Linked DNA regions of Homo sapiens: region 1 is linked to region 2. Evidence: promoter capture Hi-C in human tissues and cell types (Jung and others, 2019). All regions are on one chromosome and are shown on one strand. Each heading gives the region's core, a stretch centred on a gene start or on the middle of the fragment in contact. The rest is flanking DNA. Distances are from core to core; before and after follow the strand shown. Region 1 has its middle 68 kb from the start of NNAT. Region 2 holds the start of GHRH (growth hormone releasing hormone).

What was found. Contacts are between HindIII fragments. The study calls those that stand out against the background at their distance.
Region 1: a contact is called between a fragment that was not itself captured here and the fragment with the promoter of GHRH in region 2, in 2 of the 25 tissues and cell types used here (IMR-90 fibroblasts and lymphoblastoid cells).

Annotation. Positions count from the first base shown.
Region 1 is chr20:37,450,011-37,456,734 of GRCh38, forward strand. No RefSeq gene overlaps it. Among named protein-coding and RNA genes, the nearest start is that of NNAT, 68 kb to the right of the region's middle. The HindIII fragment of the contact is 6,428 bases long and covers 1-5,938 here.
Region 2 is chr20:37,257,667-37,264,533 of GRCh38, forward strand. GHRH (growth hormone releasing hormone) reads right to left here and starts at 4,148. Exons shown (of 5, transcript NM_021081.6): 1 at 4,077-4,148. RefSeq lists a silencer at 333-566. The HindIII fragment of the contact is 8,848 bases long and covers 1,954-6,867 here.

The DNA of each region.
Region 1 (6,724 bases), core at 1,475-3,974, 190 kb after region 2:
CGGTGTGGTGCTGCAGCCAGGAGCCCTGCATCGTCTCTGACTACTCCTGTTTAGCCACCCACAGCCCATCTGTTCCCCCTCCCTGCCAACTCTTTCTCCGAGGGGCTGCTAAAGGCCCCCATTCTCTCAGTCCCTGCTGCAGCATCGTGTGGAGATGAGGGGATAATTGTCTTCCTTTGTCCATCCATTCATCCATCCATCCATCCATGCATGCATTCATCCAACCATCCATCCATCCATCCATCCATCCATCCATCCATCCATGCATCCATCCATCCATCCATCCATCCATCCATCCATCCATCCATCCATCCATGCATCCATCCATCCATCCATCCATCCATCCATCCATCCATCCATGCATCCATCCATCTATGCATCCATCCATCCATCCATCCATCCATCCATCCATCCATCCATCCATACATCTACCCACCCATCCATACATGCATCCCTCCATCCATCCATCCACCCATCCACCCTTCCATCCATACATCTACCCATCCATCCATCCATCCATCCACCCATTCCTCCATCCATCTGTTCATTCATCCATTCATTCAGCCATCCATCTGCCCATCCACCCATTCACCCACCTATCCATCCACCCATCCATACATATGTCCACCCACCCATTCATCTGCCTACTCTTTCATCCATCCATCCATCTATATATCCATCCATCCATCCCTCCCTCCTACCACCTGACATACATTGAGCACCTGAGTGCTCTGTTGAAGACAAAGACTCCAAAACCCCGGGCTGTGTTCTAAGGAGTCCAGGGGGAGAGAGGACCAGTTACCACCCATGGGAAGATGGGGTGATAGGGACTTTGGAAGTCTCCAAGCATCACCGTGTGTGTTCTTGCATGTGCATATATGCATGTGTTTGCTCTGTCTTGGCCACTTTCTCAGACCCTTCTCTTTCCTCCTGATCTCTACTATCAGTGCTCCCCAGGGCTGTGTCCTCACCCCTCTGCCCTTGTCCTTCCATGGGCCATACTATCCACACCAGGGCTTCAGAGGTCCCTGCACACAAACTCCTCTGCATTTCTGTGCTCATCTCCCCTCTCCCAGACCTGTATACTCACTGTCCTGTCCTCAGCCCCACTCAGTCATACTCCCAGCATCATACACTCCCCAGGCTCCAAACAACCTCCCTCCTCTCCAGGCTTCATCTTATGCTCTCATCCTCCATCTCCAGGGACAGAAATCCAGGCTTCCCCTTCTCCCCACCTCCTTCCTTTAAACTTGTGCTGACTCTTTCTCCCAAATCTCCCATCTCCTCCTTTGCTCCTTTCATCCCATGGCCAGCATGGTTGCCCTGGTGACAGCCATCCTCTTCCCTCCTTCTGAGTCTGCTTTCCAGCATGAGAGATGTGTTCTGGTGACCTGTTCCTCCCATGCTCTGTCTTCTCTCTCTGTCCATCTGCAGAAAATCTGGGAAAGGGACCCTTGGCTTTACTTGCTTCCATTCCCAGCCCACGCATACCCCATCCTTGGCAAGGGACCTCAGCCACATTGAGCCCACCATGGTTCTCAAGAGAGCTCTCCATAGACCTCCTTCTTGCCAAAGCCCATGGTCCCTTTTTCCTCCTCATTTCTCCTGGCCCATTGGGGTCCTGATTGGGGTGCCCATCCTTGCTTGGGAGGCCACTGTCTCCTCCTTCAGGACACTGGGTGCTCCTGGCTTTTCTCCCACCCATTGGGCAGTTTCTCTCTTCCATCCACCTCTCAATACTGATGCTTCCCAGAGCTCAGTCCTCCACCGCTTCCTGCCCTGCCCGTTCCCCAAGGGCAGCTTCCTCCACCCCCAGGACATCTGTGGCCACCCATTGTCCTTCTTGGACATAGAGCTCTCTCCTGAACTGGGACTTGCACATCCATGTACCTGAACACAGGACTAGACACTTCCCTGCCCTTCCCACACTGCTCTTCTTTTCTCCAACCTCCTCACCTGCCCAGCTCCCCATCCTCAGCACAAGTAGACCAAGTCTCAGGCACTTTCTTGACTCCTTCTGACCACATCCAGTCCCACCATAGGGCTGTGCCTCCAGCACACCACCACCATCCCATCTGGGTGTCAGCTCCCAGGGCCTCCCGGGTTTCCCATCTCCAGCCTTGCCCCTTCCTGTCTACACTTGGTGAGGCCACCCAAGCCACCTTTCTAAATCTCCCACTTGGCAGCTCACCCTTCACTGGCCTAACCCCACTAAGCCAGCTTCCCCACCTCCCCACCCTCCTGATAAACTTCAAGCCAATTTTTCCTGCTTTAAGGCTCTGGGCAAGGCCAAACCCTCACACTCTTGGTGACTTATCCTTCTGCCCTGTCTCCAGTCACAAGGAACCTCTTGCAGTGCAGAAAGACTCACCCTCTCCCCACCTTCTGGCCTTTGCTCAAGCTGCCCTTGGCAGGAACGCCTCTCACCTGTCTGCCTGGCACACAGCAAGGCTTCTCTTGGCTCAGGCACTTCATCCTCCCTGATGAAGTCCCAGGGCCTCTCCCCTGAAAGCCCCCATAGCATCACAGGATCACACCCCTGGGAACAGCCAGGCACATGCATGTGTTTGGGGGGATCTTTCCCGCCAGACCACGGGCATCTTGAGAGCCTGCATCTGAGTTCTCTCTGAGTGTCAGCACAGAGGAAGGCTGAGGAATGTCTGAAGCTGGAGGAACTTCAAGTTGAAAAAAAACACTAAAATTTCAGGAAGGAAGGACTAAAGTCTCCTTTGAAACCTCCTCCCAAATCCTGATTTCTACTTATTTTCCCACATGGATCCTCAGTTATTAGACTGATGTGAATTATACTGGTAGCTAGCTAGCTAGATGATTGATAGGAAGGAAAAAGGAAGGAAGGAAGGAAGGAAAGAAGAGAAAACTTGTTCTATTATTGTTGGTTTGGTTATTGTTGTTTGAACATAAATACTACACACTGTGCATGTGATTTGGCAGTGGCCTTCCTCATTCAGCAATGTGTCTTGGGTCTGCTTCCATGTCAGAGTTTAGGTGCATCACATTCTTTTATCAGATGCACAATGGCCGAGCTGGCTTCCTCCTGCCGATGAGCATGTTGGTGTCCCTGCTCTTTTGGTGAGGTGGTAGCAGCTTCTGTGCATGGCCTCTTTCTGTGTCTCACTCTAGGGTCCCCAGTGTGTGATCAGGCTGCCGTGTGCCTGCTTGTCTGTCTGTCTGTGTGTGCACACATCTGCCTCTTTGCCTCTCTGAATCTCTCTCCTTCCTTTTCCCATTCTCTCTCATTATTCCATATTCCCTCTAGATTTGGTCCCCATGTTGCAACACAACTGTGTTTGTGTGTCTCACCCTGGGTCACATCTGTGGGTTCCTCTTTACTTGGAGCCTTTTCTCCTTCTGATTCTCATTCACTTGGTGACTTCTCACCCCTGTGCATCCACTTGCTCTGCCATCCATTCATCCACCCACTTTGGACATTGAGCATCTTCCAGGAGCTGGACAGCTCCCATACGTGAGTCAGTGTGTGTGCCCCCTCTGTGTACTGCCCCTGGGTCTCTGCCTGTCTGTGGGCCTGTCTCTCCGAGCCCCCTTCTCCCACCCCTGCCTTCATCCTCCTCAGCTGCACTTCCTTCTGCTCTCCAGAGGAAACTTATGGAATTTGCTCTGTCCACGCATCATTCCTGCTGTGTGTGTGTGTACTTGTGTGTACGTGTAAGTGGGTCATCTCTTTCTGAGGCATGGTCAGGGTTGGCTTCCACTCTCTGTCACTCTCATGGACATTTCATCTGCTTGCCTCTCCATCCAGCCATCTGTAGCATGCTCAGCTAACTCTGGGGCAGGGTCTTCCTGTCTGGTCTGTCTTCCTTTCCTTCTCTTTCTCTCACTCCTCACACACTCCCCGGATGAACTCATCCCCTGCCCTCTGTGCTGACATCTCCCTAACTGCTCCTGCAACCAAGACTCCCCACCTTTTTCTCTTCTTCGCAAGCCACTAGATTCCTCCCCAGGAGAATCCAACCCATTGCATCATCTTCACACCCTGAGATGTGTTTCTCTTCCAGTTCGCATTAGCACTGAGCCCCGCTGCCTGCCTCAGGCTGCAGTGGGAGACTGAGCCATCTCTAACTCCTTCTGCTGCCCACGGCACATCTGTCCCACTTCCTGCCAAGTCTCTTTCCAAGGGACCACTCTGAGACCCTTCTAACCCCAATCCCTTCAGCCCCTCTCTCTGGCCAGGCCCCAGCATCCTGTGCTTGGACAACTGAAGAGGCTTCCTCCTTTGTTGTCCATCCTCCACTCCCACCCCCTCTTCATCCTCCATTAACCTCTGGAAGAATCATGAATCACCTTTGCTTAAATCCTCCCATAGCTTCCATGTCACTCACAGTAAAAGTTAATATTCTCACCATGGCCCACAGGCCTTACCCAGTCTATTTCCTGTTACCTCTCTCCTTTCATCTCCCACTCCTTTCCCCCTTGCTCATGTTGCTCCAGCCACATGGGCTTCCTTGGTGTTCCTTGAGCAGACAGACACCAGGGCTGTCACCTATGGTTGTTCATGGCATGAGGGCACCTGGCAGAGGATGTCAGTGGAGGACAAAACCCAGCCCTTGTTCTGTTCTCCAAGCCATGAGCCCTGGTTTGGGGTTGCCTCTGCTTAGAAGAAAGATTGTCTATTTCTTTTAAATATATAGATAGAAAAGACCTTTAGCATTCTTGCTTACTTGTTTCATTATCTGTTATTTTGGGATCTGTTTCTATTTACTGATTTTTCTCCTAGTTATGAGCTACAATTTTTGGTTCTTGGCCTGTCTAGGAATTTTTGATTGGATGCTGGACATTGTAAATGTTACACTATTGATGGTCTGGAATTGTGTTGTCTTCTGTTAAAGAGTGGCATGCAGTTAAATTACTTGCTAATTACTTTGATCATTTTGAGGCTTATTTTTAAGCTCTTTTAGGGTGGGTCCACAGTAGCCTTCACTTATGGGATAGTTCCTAACCTGTGTGACTTCTAGGAATTGTTCAAATTAAAATGCTTCAGTCTTTCTTTGCCTGGCCTCAGGGAATTTCACCCTACACACCTGAAGCCTTGCACATGGCAGTGATTCAAGAGGACACATGTAGATTTCTGGAGCTGTTTTTCTTCCTTCAGTCAGGTACTCTGCCCCTCAACTTACAGCCACCTAAGCCTACCTGAACTTTGTTCTTGGTCTCAAAGATCAACTCAGCAATACTGCTGGACTCTATTTGAATTTCCCCTCCCTGCACCTAAGATGCCTCCAGACAGAAAGCTGGGTGAACTGTAGAGCTAACTTGATTTGCTTACCTTTCTTCAGGGATCACTGTCTTATGCTACTGCCTGTTGTTCAATGTCTGCAAACAATTGTTTCCAATGTTTTGCCTAGTTTTTTTTTCTAATTTTCATAAAGCTCTTTATTGGTTAGTAGAGACATTGGGAGTCATGATCCCACCTTAGAGCCTTTGCACTTGGTTCCCTCTACCTGGAACGCTTCCCCCAGATATCCACGTGGCCAACTTGCTCACTTCACAAGTGCTCATGTTACCCTCTCAGTGAACCCTTCCCTAACCACCTGCTATGGACTGAATGTTTGCGTTTTCCCAAAAGTCAGGTGTTGAAGCCTTAATGCCCAGTGTAGTGGTATTTGGAAGTGGGCCTTTGGGAAGTGATTAGGTTTTGATGAGGTCATGAGGGTTAAGCCTCCATGATGGGATTAGTTCCCTTAAAAGAAGAGGAAGAGAGGACCAGATCCCTCTCTCTGTGTCATGTGAGGATACAGCAAGAAAGCTTTCATCTGCAAACTAGGAACAGGGCCCTCACCAGACACCAAATACGCTGGCACCTTGATCTTGGACTTCCCAGCCTCCAGAACGACGAAAAATAAATATTGCTTAAACCATCCAGTAGATGGTATTTTGTTATAGCAGCCTGAGATAAGATATCACTTTACTTAGAATTGAAACTACCTCAACTTGTAATGCCCCATTACCTTGTGTATTTCTCTCTATGTATATATTTACTGTCTATAAAATTAATTGCCTGTCTTCGTCCCCTAACCTCCTTCTGCTCTATACCTGTCTTTTTTCCATTAACATGGAAGCTTGATGAGGGCAGAGAATTTTGTCTGTTTATTCACTGCTGCATCCCCAGTGCACAGTGGGGATAGTTCGGCTTGACTGTGGGGCTCACAGGGATTTAAGTTGAGCAGCGTTTCTGTAGGTGCCCAACACATCCTGGAGCAACTGCTGGTGCTGGCTGAGGTTAGGATGGGGAAGGGGTAGAAAGGCCTGTTCAGGGCCTAAGCAGCTCACCATCCATTCACAGTTATGCTCAGAATCTCATTCTCTACCTACACCTACCACCTCTGACATAAGACAATGTCTGGCCTCCTTGCCCCAGCACAGGCTTCTTCCTCTGCCCAGAGTACAACTCCCTGGCTCAGCTATGTGGCACAGACACCTAGCTTCAGAGTCTCCACCTGTATGAAGTGTTCTGTGAATCTTGTGACTTCCAATCCCTTCTTCACTCTGGGACCAAGAAAATTCTTTCTAAATGCCTTATTCTATTCAGGCTTCTATAACAAATTACCATAGACTGGGTGGTTTACAAGCAACAAATATTTATTTCTCAAAGTTCTGGAGGCTGGGAAGTCCAAGGTCACAGCACCAGCAGATCTGGTGTCTGATGAAGGCTCTCTGGTCCATAGACAGTGCCTTTCAGCTGTGTCCT
Region 2 (6,867 bases), core at 2,898-5,397:
GTCAGACAAACTGGAAGTTCAAATCCTGGCTCTGCTGTCATTAGCTGTGTGTCCCAGGACAAGTGGCTTCACCTCTCTGAGCCTTATTTTCCCCGGCCATAAAACCAAGATAGTAACTAGACCTCCTACTTCGGCTCCTGGAAGGATCTGGTGAGGTAAGTGCCTGAACCAATAGGGAATTCTCTAGAAACCTTTGCTGTGTCTACCTAAGACCAACCCTCTCAGAGGGCAGGCTCTTCCTGTTTTAATTTTGTTTGGAGTTGGAGAGAGGGGAGAAGGGCTCTAAGTCTTGCTCCAGATGCTTAGATTTTGCTGAAGAGTTTTAGTCCTGGAAGAGACTGAAGAGCCGGGGGATCCAGTGTGGCGCAGTCATCTCATAGGTCCTGTAACTACCCTTAATTGGGGCCTGCGGACAGCATGCTCTGCAATTAGGGGAAAAACAGCCAGCAGGGGACAGAGCCCGCCTCCGCTGGGGCAAGTGCCACTGCTGTCAGCCCAGACCTGCCCAAGCATGGAAACACGGCTGGCCTCGGGGGACTTGGCCACCTAGGAATTGGGTCCTCCCATCTCCCATGGGTTTCTCCCTCTCTCAGCAGGATGTCTACTCCATGGGGGTGTAGATCCATCCAGAAGCCCAGCCAGCCCCGGAGGTGGCCAGCACCCCCGCCTTTCCCACAATCTCCTCACATGGCTTCCTTCTCTCCCACTCCTGGGTCCTGCTGAGGAGTTCTGGCAGGCAGGGCCAGCACTGGCAGAACCCACCTTGCTCTCCCGGCCCTCTCAGGGTATCACCCTCCTTTCTGAAGGCACTGAAGTCTCCTCTAACCCAGGGATGCCTTGGGCCCCCAGGCAGCACTCAGGGGGTCTGCTTACTGCAGCCTGAGACCCTGTACCTGCAGAGCTGGAGGGAGCAGCAGCCCAGGCCTCAGTGGTCAGCCCCTCCCTCCATGACATGAGCATCCCCACAACACGCACACTGGCTGTCCTCCACTTCCTGCTCGAGTGAGCACTTGCTGCCAGCGAATGACAGGGATCTCACTACCCCCAGGCCCGGGAGCTTATTTCCAGATGGTTCTTTATTTATTTATTTTGAGAGCGGGTCTCACTCTGTGGCCCAGGCTGAGGTGCAGTGGTGCAATCATAGCTCACTACAGCCTCAAACTCCTGGGCTCAAGCAATCCTCCTGCCTCAGCCTCCTGAGTAGCTGGGACAGCAGGCATGTGCCATCATGCCCAGCTAATTTTGAAATTTTTTGTAAAGATAAAGTCTCACTATATTGCCGAGGCTGGTTTCAAACCCCCGGGCTTAAGTGATCCCCCCGCCTCAGCCTCCCAAAGAGTTGAGCTTATAGGCATGAGCCACAATGCCAGGCCCAGGCAGTTCTTATTGTTAGGAAGTTTGTCTCACCATGTCAAGCCCAAATCTCCTTCTCCTGCAAATGTTTGTTAAGCCTCTACTGTTCCGGTAAGGACTGGGGCTAGAGAAAAGATGAGAACACGGGATCTACCCCGAGGGCTGGCTGTGTAACATCCGCCTGCTGGGCTGGAGCCTCTGCACCTACAGCCACACGACTGGTCCTTTAGATATGTTCCGCATGTCTGACTTAAGCTTTTGTTCCTCAGACCAAGGCTCGGCAGGCTTCCGTCCTCCTCATCGCACCATACCACGTCTGGTCCCCCTTCTCCCCACCTGGTCCAGGCTGCCTCTCCAGAAGTGGAATTTCCTAAGCCGAGAGATCTCTGGATGCAAGCAGGGCCCCTTGACAGAAACCACTGCCTTTTCTGTCTCCCAGCTGCAGCCTGGCTTTCTTGCCTTCTTTGCTGCTGATCTTTTAAAGATTCAGGCAGATCTAGGTCCCCAATCACCTCCCTCCCCTGCTCAGAAGCCCTTGGCTCCCCACTCCTTCCAGAATAAAGCTCAAACCCCTTCTCTTGGCTTAAGCTCTCCCTCTGCCTGCCCCTTCTCCCAAGGGCTGGCACAAGTGATTCCCAGCCCCTGTGCCCTATCAGGCTCCACAACCCATCCTTGCACTCTCCCTCTGGAGCAGGCATCCCCATGCTCCTCTTACAGCCAAGGAAAAGAGCCTAGAGAGGACAAGGACATTTTCCATGATCCTCCATCAAATTAGTTTTGGAGTGGGCACTTCAGAGTGGGCCTCCTCATTCCCAGGCCGGCAGACTTCCTTCCGCTCCATGCAGCAGCCTCCCAGGTACAATGCTCTATTCACAGTATTCCCCATTCACAGGGATCCTCAGCCTCCATCACCTGCACGTGGGAAAGGGTCTGAAAAAAAGGAAAGCTTCTTGCTCTTTGTTGTTGGGCCTCTGGGGAAGAAAGAACAGGGACAAACAGGAACACCTGCTTGATTGGCCCCTCCCTATGCACACCCAGTAGTTTCAGGGAGTTGAAACAACCTCATAGGAGGGCAGACTTTGGTGGGGAGGGCAAGTCATAGTAAACACAATACCCCGCTCATTCAAGATAAGGCTCAGCAACTGCACAAGTTAACCAAGAGGCTCAACATTTGCCACAAATCCTGTGCCCCAGGCATAGGTCAAGACCCCACAGCAACCTCTGAGCTATGAGAACCGAATCCATGGGTTTGCAGATCCCACTGGATGAAAATGGGAAACAAGAATTATCCAGTGTAGGGTAAGATAAGAAGAATAGAGGTTATGTCACTAAGGATAAAATAGCTCCAGCCTGAGCAACATGGCGAGACCCCATCTCTACAAAAAAAAAAACACACAAAACAAAACAAAAAAAAACTTATCTAGGCATGGTGGCGCATGCCTGTAGTCCCAGCTACTCTGGAGGCTGATGTGGGAGGATTGCTTGAGCCCGGGAGGTTAAGGCTGCAGTGATCCATGATAGTGCCACTGCACAGTAGCCTAAATGTCAGAGCAAGACCCCATCTCAAAGAATAAAATAAAATAGCTGTCAACAGACACATTCCACATGACAACTTAAGGAGTCAAAATTCACTGAATGAAGTGTAGCCGAGCCCAACAGCATTGCTGGCAACCCTGATGACTGAAGGCACTCCAGAGTTTATAATCTATCATTATGATCATCGGTTAGCTTCCTGCAGTGCTTACTGATTCTGGGATTAGATGTACTTGAGATTGCCTGGATTCAGGATAAACGGGCACTTGATCTACATCCGTTGGCACCTTTTGCCAGCTTTCATGCCAGGAATGCCAGGAGAATTCTGCAGATTCACCTGCAGCTGACAGAGGTCAGGTCTCAAGCACCCAAATTCGCAAGGCCATTTTTGAAAACCCAGGGAAAGAACATCTTTAACCTTCCTTGAATATCCCCCTTTGAAATTTGAGCACCCCAAAGCATAGACTTCCTGATCTGGTTTATAAACTGTTTCAGTGACAGCATTCCAAGTTAAAAGAAATCTAAGTTTTTAATGAGGAAGCATCTTGAACTGTCATTCAAAAGAGTGACACTCCACCTCCTTCCAGAAGGGGTTTGAGGCAGTCTATGGTGAAAGACACAAATACTTCAGGACCATTAAAGCAAGGATCAGGAGACAGGCGTGGGGTAGCGGAGGACTCCAAAGGCAGATAATTGTGTCTAAAACCTGGAGTAAAGAGTGTGGCTGCAATTGAGCAAGAAAGCAAAATGTTATCAATTTCCCGGCAATTACATTGAATCAGTTCTGAGTGATCAATGAGCAGTATTGATTTGCACAGCCACTTGGCTCATCTCTGATCCATGGCAGAATCCCATCGCTGACAGGAAAATCGAGCCAACTCACGTTTGCCCCCGAAGCCTGCCCACGCATCCTCGAAGGAGCACTGAGACCTCACCACCTGCGACAGACACCTGGAGCCAGTCCGCCACGCGCCCAAGTTAAGACAAGCCCCAAACAGCACCATCAAAAGCCTATTCCAGAGCCCCTATTGAGGGGTGATTTTATCCAGAGAGGGGCTCAAATGTACTCACCAGTCCATGGGCAAAGAGGATGGCGGTGGGCCTCTTGGACTCAGTGTTTCTAAGTTGGTGAGAAGGTTAACTTTTCTTACCCCCACCCAGCCTAGCCCCCCCAGGGCCACCCCTCTCACCTGATGCGGCAGATATCCCTCTGCTCCGAGGCACTGCTCAAATCCAGGGGCCCTGGGCTGGGTGTTTGCTCTGGCAGCCGCCTGGCGTTCCCATCATTTATCTCTTCATTTTCCTAAGCGTTGTCAGCGTCAGAGAATCAATTACCCACAAGTCAACCAAAGGACTGTTTTTAGCATCATATCACACTGACAAACCCTGTTGGTGAAAGAGGTTTGGCCCCTTGCAGACTTAGACTCCTGGTAAAGTCTCCTTTTATCTTTGGCACAGTGGACATAGTACAAAGGTGTAACATTATTCCAAGAGGATATAGAGAATATATACTGCTATAATAGTGATTGGAGAACTCGGCTGGGCGCGGTGGCTCACACCTGCCATCCTAGCACTTTGGGAGGCTGAGGCGGGTGGATTGCCTGAGCTCAGAAGTTTGAGACCAACCTGGGCAACATAATGAGACCCTGTCTCTAGAAAAAAATTAAAAATTAGCTGGGCATGTTGGCACATGGGTATAGTCCCAGCTACTCAGGTGGCTGAGGCAAGAGTGTCACCTGAGCCTGGGAGGCGGAGGTTGCAGTGAGCCAAGACCACGCTATGGCACTCCAGCCTGGGTGACAGAGCACGACTCTATCTCAAAATATATATTTTTTAAAAAAAGAAAAAATATGTGTTAAAAATAATTGGAGAACTCATAACAGTGAAACACCAAGAGTTTATTGATTCTCCAAGATAAATGTGCCTTTTCAAAAGTTCATATAATTTAGCTTTGTCCCTGTGTAATTTTATTTCACTTTTGGGTAGACAACATTATGAATAAGCGTTATTCTCTCCTTAGTGGGGAATTTGTTCCCTATCTCCCTTGTCGTCCAATTATCAGAATTCTGCACTATTTGATTTACACCTGCTTGGTCACAGGCTGATTTCAACAGCTAGCCTGGGGGCATCCGTCGTCACCTGTCAAGGCAGCCAGACATTGGCAGTTGCCTCAGAGAAGTGTGAAATGAGAGGGAAGAGATGGAAAACCTTGGGAGAGTTGTTGTGTTTCCAGATTTCTCTAGCCTATAGCTAAGAAATCCTCAGGAATGACATAAAAGCACAGGAGGCAGAAGCTCTGGTTTCCCAGGCGGCCGTCGTGGAGGTGTGGAAAGAGCTCCAAGCCTCGAGTCTAGGGACCTGCTGCCTCTCCCAAGCCTGTCAATCATGACCTCTGTGACCCTTAGGAAGTTACTTCTACCTGGCTGGGTGCAGTGGCTCACACCTGTAATCCCAGCACTTTGGGAGGCTGAGGCGGGTGGATCATGAGGTCAGGGGTTCGAGACCAGCCTGACCAACATGGTGAAACCCCGTCTCTACTAAAAATACAAAAATTAGCTGGGTGTGGTAGTGGGCACCTGTAATCCCAGCTACTCAGGAGGCTGAGGCAGGAGAATTGCTTGAACCCGGGAGGTGGAGGTTGCAGTGAGCCGAGATCGTGCCACTGCACTCCAGCCTGGGCGACAGAGCGAGACTCTGTCTCAAAAAAAGAAAAAAAACTTCTACCCTCCGGGCCTCAGTTTCTACCTGGAAACTTGAGAGTTGACATAGAACAGCAACTTTCAAACTATTTTTTTGAGAGGGATCCTATCTTTGCCACCCAGGTTGGAGTGCAGTGGCATAATCTCGACTCATTGCAACCTCCACCTCCCGGGTTCAAATGATTCTCCTGCCTTAGCCTCCAGAGTAGCTGGGATTACAGGTGCGTACCACCACGCCTGGCTAAGTTTTGTATTTTAGTAGAGATGGGATTTCACCATGTTGGCCAGGTTGGTCTCAAACTTCTGACCTCAGGTGATCCACGTGCTTCTGCCTCCCAAAGCACTGGGATGACAGGTGTGAGCCACCACACCCAGCCCAAACATTTTTTAAAAAGTAGCAAAACTCTTTCTTTGGAAACCTACAGAGACAGGTTTTTAATATGGGGCTACTCTGGTTGAAGAGGGGGAAGTGGAGACCCCCTTGCCTATCCCTGAGGTACCTCGATGGGTCACAATTACAAGCCAGTAATTTCCAAGAGTCCCCTTAGCAACACTATTTTGTGGTTCTCCTTCTTAGCCTGCACTGAGCCATGTTCTTGGCATCTAGCAAATATGAGATGTTTCTCATAGAAGCAAGGCTTGAGTGGTATGTCACCTTGCTGGCCAGGATACGAAGTGGTCAGGTCAGGCCAGATCCCCAAGGATTAAGAATGGGCTGATAGTGGCCAGGTGCGGTGGCTCATGCCTGTAACCCCAGCACTTTGGGAGGCCGAGGCAGGCGGACTGCCTGAGCTCAGGAGTTCGTGACCACTCTGGGCAACATGGTGAAACCCCGTCTCTACTAAAATACAAAAAAATTAGCTGGGTGTAGTGGCATGTGCCTGTAATCCCAGCTACTGGGGAGGCTGAGGCACAAGAATAGCTTAAGCCCCAGAGGCAGAGGTTGGTGTGAGCCGAGATGGCGCCGCTGCACTTCAGCTTGAACAACAGAGTGAGACTCTGTCTCAAAAAAAAAAATAAATAAAAACAGGGCGTGGTGGTTCACGTCTGTAATCCCAGCACCTTGGGAGGCTGAGGCGGGCGGCTCACGAGGTCAGGAGATCGAGATCATTCTGGCTAACATGGTGAAATCCCGTCTCTATTAAAAATACAAAAAATTAGCCGGGCGTGGTGGTGGGTGCCTGTGGTCCCAGCTACTCGGGAGGCTGAGGCAGAAGAATGGCTCAGGACCCAGGAGGCGGAGCTTGCAGTGAACCAAGATGGTGCCACTGCACTCCAGCCT